2 separate regions of the Homo sapiens genome follow, and region 1 is linked to region 2. The links are contacts of gene promoters, found by promoter capture Hi-C in human tissues and cell types (Jung and others, 2019). All regions are on one chromosome and are shown on one strand. The core of a region is centred on a gene start or on the middle of the fragment in contact, and the rest is flanking DNA. Distances in the headings are between cores, read along the strand shown. Region 1 overlaps LOC105376863 (a long non-coding RNA gene). Region 2 holds the start of LYPLA2 (lysophospholipase 2).

Evidence for each region. Contacts are between HindIII fragments. The study calls those that stand out against the background at their distance.
Region 1: a contact is called between a fragment that was not itself captured here and the fragment with the promoter of LYPLA2 in region 2, in 1 of the 25 tissues and cell types used here (bladder).

What each region holds. Positions count from the first base shown.
Region 1 is chr1:24,023,746-24,030,511 of GRCh38, forward strand. LOC105376863 (a long non-coding RNA gene) reads left to right here. Exons shown (of 3, transcript XR_947072.3): 2 at 1-16; 3 at 5,133-5,230. Among named protein-coding and RNA genes, the nearest start is that of MYOM3-AS1, 40 kb to the right of the region's middle. The HindIII fragment of the contact is 4,536 bases long and covers 704-5,239 here.
Region 2 is chr1:23,785,343-23,792,422 of GRCh38, forward strand. LYPLA2 (lysophospholipase 2) reads left to right here and starts at 5,803. Exons shown (of 10, transcript NM_007260.3): 1 at 5,803-5,908. It overlaps LOC105376860 (a long non-coding RNA gene), which reads right to left. Exons shown (of 2, transcript XR_947067.3): 2 at 5,272-5,448. It overlaps PITHD1 (PITH domain containing 1), which reads left to right. Exons shown (of 6, transcript NM_020362.5): 4 at 333-437; 5 at 973-1,081; 6 at 1,933-2,890. The coding sequence ends at 2,034. RefSeq lists a silencer at 5,981-6,040. The HindIII fragment of the contact is 2,550 bases long and covers 3,809-6,358 here.

The DNA.
Region 1 (6,766 bases), core at 1,722-4,221, 240 kb after region 2:
CTCCTGTACTTGCTAAGTAAGTAAGGGGGCTCTTTGGATGACCTCAGACTTTTGGGAAATTGAGAAAGCATATTCCACAGCAGCAGTCCCATGTGGGGGTAGGAGTGGGGTGGCAGAGGGGCAGGGAAGAGAGCTAGAAATGGGGCACGAGGCTGAGGACCCAGGACAGAAAAACTCTGCACCTGCCCCTTTAGTGACCAAGAGTGAATTTCAAACCTAGATTTTGAGTGACAGTAAATTTATATAAATATTTTGAGGCCGGGCACGGAGGCTCACGCCTGTAATCCCAGCACTTTGGGAGGCCGAGGTGGGTGGATCATGAGGTCAGGAGATGGAGACCATCCTGGCTAACACGGTGAAACCCCGTCTCTACTAAAAAATAGAAAAAATTAGCTGGGTGTGTTGGTGGGCACCTGTAGTCCCAGCTACTTGGGAGGCTGAGGCAGGAGAATGGTGTGAACCTGGGAGGCAGAGCTTGCAGTGAGCCAAGATCATGCCACTGCACTCCAGCCTGGGCGACAGAGCGAGACTCTGTCTCAAAAAAAAAAATTTGAAACAAGGTCTTTGCTTTGTTGCCCAGGCTGAAGTGCAGTGGCATGATCACAACTCACTGTAGCTTTGACCTCCTGCGCTCATGCAATACACCTACTTCAGCCTCCCAAGTAGCTGGGACTGCAGGCTCCCCCCACCATACTCGCTTAATTAAAAAAAAAAATTTTGTTGAGATAGGGTCTTGCTATGTTGCCCAGGCTGGTCTGAAACTTGTAGACTCAAGTGACCCTCCTACCTCGGCCTCCCAAAGTGCTGAGATTATAGGCGTCAGCCACTGTGTCTGGACAACAGTCAATTTTTATATGTGGACTTAAAGTTTGCTATATTATTTGAAGTCAATTATGTTTCCTTCTATAACTTTGGGTTGAGGTCAAGCATTGTTGCTCCAGATTTTTTTCCAGATAAGTGGAGTGGGGTACATGCTAAAAGAATTGGGGTTCCCCAGAAGCAAATGGTACTTACCTGACACAAAGGCTTTAGCTAGATCTGTTTAGCCACCTCCAACCTTTCTTTGAAAGTAAACTTTTTTATTTTTAGATTTCTTCTTTTTACAGACACCAGTGTTACTTGCCATTTTTTAAAAAGTTAAATTTTTTTTTTTTTTTTTTAGCACAGATGAGGTCTTACTACATTGCCCAGGCTAGTCTTGAACTAATAGGCTCAAGTGATCCACCTGCCTTGGCCTCCCATATTTTTAGATTTTAAAATACTTTTAGGATTTAGGCTGGGCGTGGTAGCTCACACCTATAATTCCAGCACTTTGGGAGGCCGAGGAGGGCAGATCACCTGACGTCAGGAGTTCAAGACCAGCCTGGCCAACGTGGTGAAACCCCGTCTCTACTAAAAATATAAAAATTAGCCGGTCATGGTGGTGGGCACCTGTAATCCCAGCTACTTGGGAGGCTGAGGCAGGAGAATCACTTGAACCCGGGAGGCGGAGGTTGCAGTGAGCCGAGATCACGCCACTGTACTCCAGCCTGGGCACTAGAGTGAGACCCTGTTTAAAAAAAAAAAAAAAAAGATTGAGTGAAAGAAGCAAGATACAAGAGAGCAATACTGAGTGATTCCTTTCATATGAAGTGTGAGAACAGGTAGAAACTAATTTGTGGTTGTGAAAATTAGAACAATGGTTGCCTCTGAAGGGGATTGACTGGTGTGTGGCATGGAGGAAACGTTTGGGTTGATTAAAATGGCCTAAATCTTGTTGAGGATATTGGTTTCACTGTTGCATATGTTTGTCAAAACTCATCAAACTGTACACTCAAGTCCTGTGCATTTTTCTGTATGTAAATTATACTTCAACCTTAATTTTAAAAGAAGCAGTGAGCCCCCAAATTTTAGATGATGAACTGGTTTGGATTGCTACCTCCTTTCCTGAAAGTCAACCGGGGAGAAACTGTGGAAGCCAGAGGGAAGCAGATTCCAGAACCAACAGAAAATCAAAATGAGGCCATCCTTCTTCTGTTTGCCTCTACTTCCTCTCTGATTGAAGCTGTCTTTTCTTTCTTCCTTTTTCTTTTTAGAGACAGAATCTTACTCTGTTGCTCAGGCTACAGTGCAGTGGCACAGACACGGTTCACGGCAGCCTCAACCTCCTGGGCTTCAGCAATCCTTTTTGCCTCAACCTCCTGAGTAGCTGGGATTACAGGTGTGCACCACCATGCCTGGCTATTTTTTTTTTTTTTTTTTTTGGAGACAGAGTCTCGCTGTCACCCAGGATGGAGTGAAGTGGCGCGATCTAGGCTCACTTCCATCTCCCGGGTTCAAGCGATTCTCACACCTCAGCCTCCTGAGTAGCTGGGACTACAGGCTTGTGCCACCATGTCTGGCTACATTTTTGTATTTTTAGTAGAGACAGGGTTTCACCATATTGTCCAGGCTGGTCTTGAACTCCTGAGCTCTGGCAATCTGCCCACCTCGGCCTCCCAAAGTGCTAGGATTACAGGCGTGAGCCACCGCGCTATTAAAAAAAAAACCATTTTTAAAATTTTTTTATTTGTAAAGACAAGATCTCTCTATGTTGCCCAGGCTAGTCTCGAACTCCTGGGCTCAAGTGATCCTCCCGCCTTGACCTCCCAAAGTGCTGGGACTATATAGGTGTGAGTCAATTCACTCAGCCAGATTGAGGCTGTCTTAAACCTGTGTCTGGGAGGTAGGTAGTTGTGCCTGGGGTAGAGGGCTGTGGTGGGGATGGTGGACGGTCTGGAAGAAAGTGTTTCTGTTTTTTTGTTTTTGTTTTTGTTTTTGTTTTGAGATGGAGTCTTGTTCTGTTGCCCAGGCTGGAGTGCAGTGGAGTGATCTCGGCTCACTGCAACCTTCGCATCCCAGGTTCAAGCTATTCTCTTGCCTCAGCCTGCTGAGTAGCTGAGATTACAGGCGCCCGCCACTATGCCTGGCTAATTTTTTTCTGTTTTTAGTAGAGATGGGGTTTCACCATGTTGGCCAGGCTGGTCTCGAACACCTGACCTTGTGATTCGCCTGCCTCAGCCTCCCAAAGTGCTGGGATTACAGGCGTGAGCCACCGCGCCCAGCTAGTTTTTAAAAATGTATTGACATATTTAGATTTTTTGGATATATTTGGAAAACTGCCTGTTTGACCAGGACCTGTTTGGTTTGGTTTGGTTCTGCCTTGCCTTTTGCTGGAGTTCTTTTAGGACAAACCTTCACTTTCTTCAGGATTAAGTATTTGTGGGGTGACTGACACTGGCAATACAAAAGCTCTGCAAGGGTGAAGCAAGCAGGAACATCTGTCACTCTTCCTTCTTCTCCAACCCCCAGGCTGTGGGATCAATGTAGCAAGACTACTTGATCTCAGGGTCTCTTCTTTCTAAGAGGTTGAGGTGGAACCTTAGGCAGTGGAGCTGCTCGGAGGAGTGGCAGGCAAAGGGAAGCAGCCACAGTTCCTGGGGTGACCTGGGGTGAAGGGGGGCTTTTGGTTCTGGGGCTCATATCCCTCTGTCTCCTTGAATTCATGAGGGCTGATCTAAATTCAGGCCTAAACTTTGACTCTTCCTCACTACTTATTTCCAGACAAATAAGCTGATAGAGGTCCAATTTGATTCTGATTATTTAGCCATAAACTGATTTTTTTTTCCATTTTATCATTCTGTTTTCCTTCTTCTTTTCCTGTGCTACATGCTTTATCTTTTTGTCCATTTATTTATTTATTTATTAGAGATGGAGTCTTGCTCTGTCACCCAGGCTGGAGGGCAGTGGTGCTATCTCGGTTCGCTGCAACCTCCGCCTCCCTGGTTCAAGCAATTCCCCTGCCTCAGCCTCTCGAGTAGCTGGGATTACAGTCGCATGCCAACAGGTCTGGTTAATTTTTTTTGCATTTTTAGTAGAGATGGGGTTTCACCATGTTGGCCAGACTAGTCTCAAACTCTTGACTTCAGGCAGTCCCCCTGCCTCGGCCTCCCAAAGTACTGGGATTACAGGCGTGAGTTACGGTGCCCGGCCTTTTTTTGTCCTTTAAAACTGTTCCTGGCCGGGTACAGTAGCTCATGCCTATAATCCCAGTGCTTTGCGAAGCTGAAGCCAGAGGATCATTTGAGGCCAGGAGTTCAAGACCAGCTTGGGCAACACAGTGAGACTCTGTCTCTACAAAATTAATAATAAAATTAGCCGGGTGTGATGGTACCCGCTTATAGCTTCTTCAGGAGGCTGAGGTGGGAGGATTGCTTGAGCCTAGGAGTTCAAGGGTGCAGTGAGCCATGATTGTGCCACTGCACTCCAGGCTGGGTGACAGAGTGAGATCTCCATCTGTTCCCACTGTGGCAATCTCCTCCACAAAGTAAATATTATTTCTATGTTTGTTTCTTATACAATTGTTTGCATGTTCAGAATTCTCCCTGGCTTTATTCTTCTTTGGCTACTATGGGGTTGATAATATGTGAAACATTACTTGGACACAAGAACAGCAACATTGTTGAATTGTATGTAGTTCACAAAGACCATTCATTATAGCTAATGCCATCTGTTGGTGGAGGGAAGAGTTGACATTCTTTTTTTCTGTGACTGTAGACATTGAAATGTAAGGGGAGAAGCTTGTCTATACATGTTATTCAGAGGCTTTAAAAATAATTCGCTGTATATAGTAGATACTTTTCCTTGTAAATATATAAATAGATCTATTTTATTTATTTATTTTTTGAGATGGAGTCTCGCTCTGTCACCCAGGCTGGAGTGCAATGGCTCGATCTCAGCTCACTGTAACCTCCGCCTCCCAGGTTCAAGTGATTCTCCCTGCCTCAGCCTCCAGAATAGCTGGGATTACAGGTGTGCGCCACCACACTTGGCTAATTTTCGTACTTTTAGTAGAGACGGGGTTTTGCCATGTTGGCCAGGCTGGTCTTGAATTCCTGACCTCAGGTGATCCCCCTGCCTTGGCCTCCCAAAGTGCTGGGATTACAGGCATGAGCCACCGCTCATGGCCTAGATCTATTTTATTTTAAAATATCTTTGTACTGTTCCATAGTATGGGTGTACCATAATTTATTCAACCATTCCCCAATTGATGGGCATTTAGGTGGTTCCTATATTTTATTTTTTTGAAATGGAGTTTTGCTCTTGTTGCCCAGGCTGGAGTGCAATGGAGTGATCTCAGCTCACTGCAACCTCTGCCTCCTGAGTTCAAGCGATTCTCCTGCATCAGCCTCCCGAGTATCTGGGATTACAGGTATGCGCCACCAGTCCCGGCTACTTTTTGTATTTTTAGTATAGATGGGGTTTCACCATGTTGGTCAGGCTGGTCTCGAACTCTTGACCTCAGGTGATCCACCTGCCTCAGCCTCCCAAAGTGCTGGGATTACAGATGTGAGCCACCACGCCTGGCCTTATTTTTTATTTATTTTTTTGAGACAGAGTTTTGCTCTCGTTGCCCAGGCTGGCATGCAGAGGCATGATCTTGGCTCACTGCAACCTCTGCCTTCTGGTTTCAAGCGATTCTCCTGCCTCAGCCTCCCGAGTAGTTGGGATTATAGGCGCCTGCCACCACGCCCAGCTAATTTTTGTATTTTCAGTAGAGGTGGGGTTTCCCCATGTTGGCCAGGCTGGTCTCGAACTCCTGACCTTGTGATCCGCCCGCCTTGGCTTCCCAAAGTGCTGGAATTACAGGTGTGAGCCACCACGCCCGGCCTTTTTTTTTTTTTTTTTTTTTTTTTAAGTAGAGGTGGGTTTTCACCATGTCGTCCAGGCTGGTCTCAAATGCCTGACCTTGTGATCCGCCTGGCTTATCTCAAATGCCTGACCTCAGGTAATTTGCCCACCTCAGCCTCCCAAAGTGCTGGGACTGCAGGCATGAGCCATGGCACCCAGCCCTAAATAAAGCTTTTTGTTTGTTTTTTTGAAACAGAGTCTCGCTCTGAGACCCAGGCTGGAATGCAGTGGCACGATCTCAGCTCACTGCAACCTCTGCCTCCCAGGTTCAAGTGATTCTCCTGCCTCAGCTTCCCGAGTAGCTGGGACTACAGGCATGTGCCACCACACCTGGCTTATTTTCAAATTTTTGTTTATTTTTTTTTTTGAGTCAGGATCTTGCTCTATTGCTCAAGCTGGAGTGCAGTGGCATGATCATAGCCCACTTCAGCCTTGACCTCTGGGCTCTGTGATCCTCCTACCTCAGCCTCCCAAGTAGCTAGACTACAGGTGTGCACCACCATCCCTAGTTAATTTTTTTTTTTGTAGCGACGTCATCTTGCTATGTTGCCCAGGCTGATTTCAAATTCCCAGGCTCAAGTGATCCTCCCACCTCAGCCTCCCAAAATGTTGGGATTATGGGCATGAGCCACTGTGCCTGGCTTAGATTTTTTTTACTACAGATAATCTCAGAAATTACATATCTTTAGGTTTAAATATATATTTCTTTGATTTTCAATAAGCATATAAAAAGCATCTTTTTATAGGTTTACTCATCATGTCAATAAATAGATTTCTGCTTCATAATTTTTTTTTTTTTTTTGAGACAGAGTCTTGCTCTGTCACCTAGGCTGGAGTGCAATGGCACAATCTTAGCTCACTGCAACCTCCACCTCCTGGGTTTAAGTGATTCTCCTGCCTCAACCTTCTTAGTAGCTGGGATTACAGGTGCACGCCACCACGTGTGGTTAATTTATGTATTTTTAGTAGAGATGAGGTTTCACCATTTTGGCTAGGCTGTTCTTGAACTCCTGACCTCAAGTGATCCACCTGCCTTGCCCTCCCAAAATGCTGGGAT
Region 2 (7,080 bases), core at 4,553-7,052:
ATTTGCCGGGCATGGTGGCGTACGCCTGTAGTCCCAGCTACTCAGGAGGCTGAGGCATGAGAGTCACTTGAACCTGGGAGGTGGAGGTTGCAGTGAGCTGAGATTGTACCATTGCACTCCAGCCTGGGTGACACAGTGAGACTCTGTCTCAAAAAAAAAAAAAAAAAAGATATTTGGAGATACTTGTATAAAATGTCATTTCTAAAATATGACCCCCAAATTCAGTCTCCTATTGATAGAACCAAAGCCATTTAAGCAGTCAGTAGAAAATTTTGAAAACCTGAAACGTGATAATGCACATTTCTTGACTTTTCTTTCCTTTCCTTTCTCAGGTACAAGAATATTCCACAGATGTCCTTTGATGATACAGAAAGGGAGCCAGATCAGACCTTTAGTCTGAACCGGGATCTTACAGGAGAATTAGAGTATGCTACAAAGTAAGCACTGGGCCTGTCTTCCATTCTCTATGGCTTCTTATAGGGCTTGCCATTTATTTTTGGCCAGTCTCCTGCTCTCTTAGCATTGGAAATGAGTTAAAACAGTGGAGGAGACTTGATCTTTGGCTTGGTCAGTTTTTGGCAGAGATTCAGTGCAAGCCACAGACTTGTTAACTTGCAAGCAATTGGCAGATCTGAATGAACTCCTAGGGTGGTTTTAGGAAAGATGTGTCTCCCATTAGTTTAGGTTAACACTAAATGTGCTTTAGAATCCCTGCTGGGTTATGCAGCATTTCTCATTCCTGTTCCTTGAGGGCAGGAGCAGTGTTTATCCCTACTGCCTTGGACAGGATCTGGCAGGTGCTCAGTAAATGGTCATTGAATTAATTGCCTGTCCAAAGGAGAAGGAAGAACTCAGGAGCTCTGACTTTGCCTGGCTTTTACAAGCTGGAGCTGAATTGTTGTTTCACATGGTGGTGAGATACTCATTGAACTATAATTCATACCTTCTTTCCCTATTCCTGTCATCCTCTAGAATTTCTCGTTTTTCAAATGTCTATCATCTCTCAATTCATATTTCAAAAAACTTCGGAGCAGATACGACAAAGGTCTTTTATATTGGCCTGAGAGGAGAGTGGACTGAGGTAAGATGGGGTTGGAAAGGTTTTCCCCTCATGTCTACATATCTGCACACTGTGGTGATGGGAGCTTCCAGGGAAGGGAAAAGAGCAAGTGTCATAATTACTCCCAGTTTATTATTTTTCTTGGTTTTATCAGTATAAACTTTTCGTCTCATTTGAGAAACTACAGGTATTTTTAAGGGGGTTGAAACTGTTATTTTTATATAAATAATATATATAATATATATATATATATCTCAGCTCACTGCGACCTCCGCCTCCCAGGTTCAAGTGATTCTCCTGCCTCAGCCCCCCAAGTAGCTGGGATTACAGGTGCCCACTCCCACGCCTGGCTAATTTTTTTGTATTTTTAGTAGAGACAGGGTTTCACCATGTTGGCCAGGCTGGTCTCGAACTCCTGACCTCAGGTGATCTGCCCATCTCAGCCTCCCAAAATGTTGGGATTACAGGTGTGAGCCACCTTGCCCAGCCTGAAATTGTCATTTATATTAATTCACAGTTTTCTACTTTCAAATGCTTTCATTGAGTATTTTTGATAATCTTTTCTATTCATGAACCAGGGATAAGATAATACCATAGACAAGTTCCTATTCTCATGGTACCCCCATTATAGTAGGGAGACTGAATCTTCAAAGTTACAGGGTGAATCAATGATAATGATCTTTGCAGCTTTCTGGAGTTAAAAAGTATCAAAATTGGGAGATATTAGATGATGACATCTAAGTATTAAAATAAGGAGATATTAAATGATGACTCCTAGAAATGAACCTGAATAAGGACTACCGCAATGTGTGTGGTGTGGGAAAGGACAGTTCTTTTAATGGCTGGCTGACCCAGCCTCAATTTTCTTGCAGCTTCGCCGACACGAGGTGACCATCTGCAATTACGAAGCATCTGCCAACCCAGCAGACCATAGGGTCCATCAGGTTACCCCACAGACACACTTTATTTCCTAAGGGCTGGCCAAGGCTCCCATAGAGGCGCTGTGTCAGTGAAGATGTACGACTACCTGTTGGGAAGGACAAAGGGATGAGGCTCCAGAGAGAGTTGGCTGCCACAGCCTCTGCCAAGCTTTGTCTTTGGGGCTTGCTGCAGAAACCTGGCCTACGGAAGATACGACACCACTGGGAGGGTTGTGTAGGTGCCAGGGGACCATCGTGGTTCTCTAGGGCGCTGTGGAAATTGGGTCTTGGGCTGGGTGGCATCTGGCAGTCATGGGTAACACTTGCTTTTCCAGTTAATGTGGCCATGTGATTCCAAGTGTCATGTTGCTTTGTGGCAAGATTGTTGTGTGACTTGTTTTTTTGTTTTTGTTTTTGTTTTTTTAAAGGAAACTATTTGTGGGCTATAGGAAACTTTCTGATGCCTCCGGATTGTGTTAGTAGTAGCCATCAGGAGGGTCTCCAACTAAAACACTTGTTCCTGCTTGCTCCTTTCCCCTCTCATTGTTCAGCATTCTTGTCAAGTTGCCCAGCTTGGAGTTGTCTGTCACGCACATGTGTCCTGTGGTTATAGCTAGAAGGACAGGAGTCTCCTGCTGATGCGTGATAGCTTAAGCTTGGGGAGAAGGTCTTTTCCACTGCCTAGCTAAGCAGTCTGGGGAGAGCATGGGGATCATTTCTATGTGTGTGGGTAATCTGGTCAGTAAGATTGAGACTTAGTTAAGATTCCCCTTGGAAATTCCTTAATGTTTATTAGCTTCTAACTAGTGTTGTAAGTCCGATGCCAGAATTTGGAGATTTGAGTTCTTCTTTTCATGGCTTTTATTCACTGTGACTAATAAGCTTCCTAATAAATCCTTGCCAGACTTAATGTTTGTATTTTCTTTTGAGTTCTTGATAGCCACTGATGCAACTTTCATTTCATGGGGAACTGTACTGAACTTTGAAATTTTTTGTTGTTGTTTTGGACTAGGTAGATTATAGGAAGTGCCACAATTAAATCAAGACTGGAGCCGGGCGCGGTGGCTCACGCCTGTAATCCCAGCACTTTGGGAGGCCGAGGTGGGCGGATCACGAGGTCAGGAGATCGAGACCACGGTGAAACCGTCTCTACCAAAAATACAAAAAATTAGCCGGGTGCGGTGGCGGGAGCCTGTAGTCCCAGCTACTCAGGAGGCTGAGGCAGGAGAATGGCATGAACCCGGGAAGCGGAGCTTGCAGTGACCTGAGATTGCACCACTGCACTCCAGCCTGGGTGACAGAGTGAGACTCCGTCTCAAAAAAAAAAAAAAAAAAAATCAAGACTGGATCAGTTTCTCCAGGAATGGTCAAGCTTAATTTTGTACAGTAGGCCAAAAACACTCCTACACCCATATATAGTAAAGAAGAAGGTGGGGTTGAAAACCTGTATTTCACAGAAATTAACTGGGCATGGTGGCGTGCACCTGTAGTCCCAGCCACTTGGGAGGCTGAGGTGGGAGGATCACTGGAGCCCAGGAGGTCGAGGCTACAGTAAGCCATGATTGCGCCACTGCACCCCAGCCTGAGGCAACAGAGTGAGACCTTGTCTCAAAACAACAACAACAAAACCCTATATTTCATTTTGCACAAAAGGAAGTGATTTGTAGAATGACATTTACAAAAATAAGGGAGAACAGATTTTGGAGCTCATCAGAAGAAATGAGGGTGAGGAAAGTAATTGAGCAGCTCATGTGGTCTCCAGGTAGACCAAAGACTTTGGACTTAAATTTTGAAAGTCAGTTTAGCAATTGAAGAGAATGTAAGTATCTAAAAAGGGGATTTGATATGGTCAGTATTCTCTCCCTTGCAGAAAACAGGAACAGGTAATAAAGGGAATTAGTGTTGAATCTGATCCTTTTGGGAGAATTCCTCTGAGGCATTGGCCCATGCTGTTGTTTGGAGGATATAGCCACTGTTTCTCCAGCCTGTCCTAGGAAAGGTCTGCTACCACCAAACCTTGTTGGCCCTCAAAATTTCTAAAATGCAGCCTGAAATAAACCAGAATGCAAATGCTGTTCTTGAAAAGCATGAAGGGTCCTATTCACTCAGCCACAGCCTCTTTATTTCAGTTGGATCATTTTTTGGAGTTAAAAGAAGGGCTATGTTTAAATTTGGAGTAGGGGGAAAAATAAAGTTAAAAATCTTAGAGCAGACTAGCCCTTCACTAATTCCACTAATTAAAGCATTAATCACAGCTCCTGGGACTGAGCCTCTGAATTTGAAGCTTCACTCTGAAGAATTTGTTTTAAGTGTCATGGTGTCTCAGGTGATCGAGGTTGCAGGAGGAACTGTTCATTCTTCCATAAGTGGGGACATTACCCTCCATTTTCTTTTGACATTCAGTCCTGGGTCCTTGGCTTGTGGTGGTCCCATAGGCTCAAAGGTTTCCTGCCCCGAATCCTGGTATTGTAGGCTCCCTGACCTGTTGAGTACTTAGGACCAAAGTGCCTCTGGGCCTGGGGGAAAGTGCTTTGTTGAGCTTCCAACTTTGTACTGTTTTCTTTTTCTTTTCTTTCTTTTTTTTTTTTTTTTTTTTTTGAGACAGAGTCTCGCTTTGTTGCCCAGGCTGGAGTGTAGTGGCACTATCTTGGCTCACTGCAAGCTCCGCCTCCCGGGTTCACGCCATTCTCCTGCCTCAGCCTCCCCCCGAGTAGCTAGGACTACAGGCGCCCGCCACAGCGCCAGGCTAATTTTTTGTATTTTTAGTAGAGACAGGGTTTCACCGTGTTAGCCAGGATGGTCTCGATCTCCTGACCTCGTGATCCGCCCGCCTCAGCCTCCCAAAGTGCTGGGATTACAGGAGTGAGCCACCGCGCCTGGCTGTACTGTTTTCTTTCTGTTCAAAGAAAACACTAGTATAGGTTAGGCTGGGAGAGTGAGTCCTAAGCGGCTGAGGGTCAAGTGTGACTCATTTCCTATTTGCAGATCCCCACACATTCTCAGGGACATGCTCCTTCAACTCAGTTTGCCTGCCTTCTGACTTTTCTGTGGTCCCTGATACCTATTTCCACTTCAGCTTGATGGCAGCGTTTTGTGCACTGTCTGCATGACATTGCTTGTGAAGGGCAGCGCTAACACTGCCAGTGCCTGTCCAGCTCTCCTGATACGGCCTTTGTATTTTTCCTAGGTCCTTTTTTGCGTGATTAACACCTCACGCTGTGATTTTACTGTATAAACCATGTTCACACAACCTCATTTAAGCCTACCAACAAAGCTGTGAAGGAGGCAGGGTGGTTATTACCATTTTATATATCAGGAAGCAGATCCAGAGAGGCAGAATTTAAATGGAATCCCGAGGTTGCTGTTTACATGCCTTCCTTGAGCCTCAGTTTCCCCATCTTCAAGGCTGGAGAACTAGATGATCTGTAAGGTCTCTTCGGTTCAGAGTGTGTCATTCCATTCATGATCCTGGAATAGGGCATGAAAGCCAGTGGCAGACACCCGAGGCCTTAAGAGGTGTGTCCCATGAGGATGGGAAGGTGGTAAAGTTTATGCAAACAATAGTGTGAGGGATGCCTCTCCTTCCGGTCGGCCCTCCTCCAGGAGGCGCATGGGTGGTGGTAGCAAGTGGGAGTCTTGGGTGCCCTGTCTCGAATCTACAAGGTGGGAGCGGGTGAGAACCCAGCGACTGCGCGGCTGAATGACAGGGAGTAGCCCCGCCGCCTCCAACATGGCAGCTTCTATCCAGCGAAGCCGGGTCCCCGCTTCCGGGTTCCGTACTGTCGGCCAGGCTACTTCCGGCAGCGCGATGGCTGGGTTCCCGGGACTCGAACGGAAGTTCCGGCGGGGGCGGCCGAGGGGGAAGAGTGTGTCTGCGGGAGAAAGAGGAGAATCGCCCAAGCGGCCTCGGAAGTCCCAGGGAGTGGAGGTACCCAGCCGGCGGCTGCGGAGGATGGGCGTGTAGGGGGAGGTCGGCCTCGGGAGGGTCCCGGAGAGCGGGGAGGGGGAACCGTGATGGGGGGGATGGGGGTGGGGAGTGAGGTGCGAAGGCGCTGTCCAGTCTTGGGGACTTCGGGAGTGGAGCGGGGCTAGGCAAGGGGGTGTCTGAGTATAAAGAGACAGACTTCAGGGTCGGAAATAGAAGAGCCCATTGTGGGGCGGGGGCTTCCCCAGAGTCAAAGGTACAAAGCTTTATTGTGGGCAGGTGGGAGTCCTGGGTCAGGGTAGAAAATTTCACTGGGTAGGGTGACCTTTGGTCAGAACAGAAGTTCCCATTGTGGGGAGCGGGAGATCCTGGGTCAGGGTGGAAGTTCTCAAGGTGTATAGAGAGAGACAGGTCAGGGGGAAGGCACCCCTCCGAGGAGGGAGCCTGGGCGGGAGGTGCAAGTCCCCACGGTGGAGAAGGAAGGGAATCGCAGCTCAGGGCAGGAGGTGCATTCCCCATGGGAAGAGGAACCCCGGGTCACAGGTGAACGATCCCATTGTGGGGAGCTGCCCTCAGGGGTCAGAGATGGAAGGTGAGGCCAGTTGGGAGGGGTGGGCAGGCACTTGAGGCAGGTAGTGGAAGCTTCCGGCGAGTTTGGAGGACGCCGAGGATGGGGAGGGGCCAGCCAGCCTGACATTCTTTTGTGTGTTTGGGAGTCCCAGAGCGTGGTCAAGCCAGGGCTCGTTTGCAGTCAGTGGCAGCAGCAGCAGGTAGCTCCGTTTAGGGGGGGCGTGGAGCACCAGTTTGGGGGTGGGTGGAGTTCTTACGCTTTCTGGGGACATGGGCAGCCCCCTGGGGGTCTGGGAATGGATGGGCCAGAAACTGCTGTGAAGGCTGGATGGGGGCTGGGTGGGGGGAGGTTGAGATGGGGGTTGGAGGCGGCACTGAGTAGGGGATGGAAGCTCCTTTCCCTGGCACTTTTCTCTCCATTTCCCATAGGGCCCGGAGTTGGGGAGGCAGGGACCCAGGGATGATTGGAGAGGAGGGGGAAGGCACTCACCCCTGAGGAGTTAGAGGGGGAATGAAGCAGGCGTGCCGCTGCCTCCCCTCTGCCCCCTGCCCTACAGTCCCTATGCCCTGCCTCTGCCTGTCTCCAGCAAGCTCAGGTCCTGTGG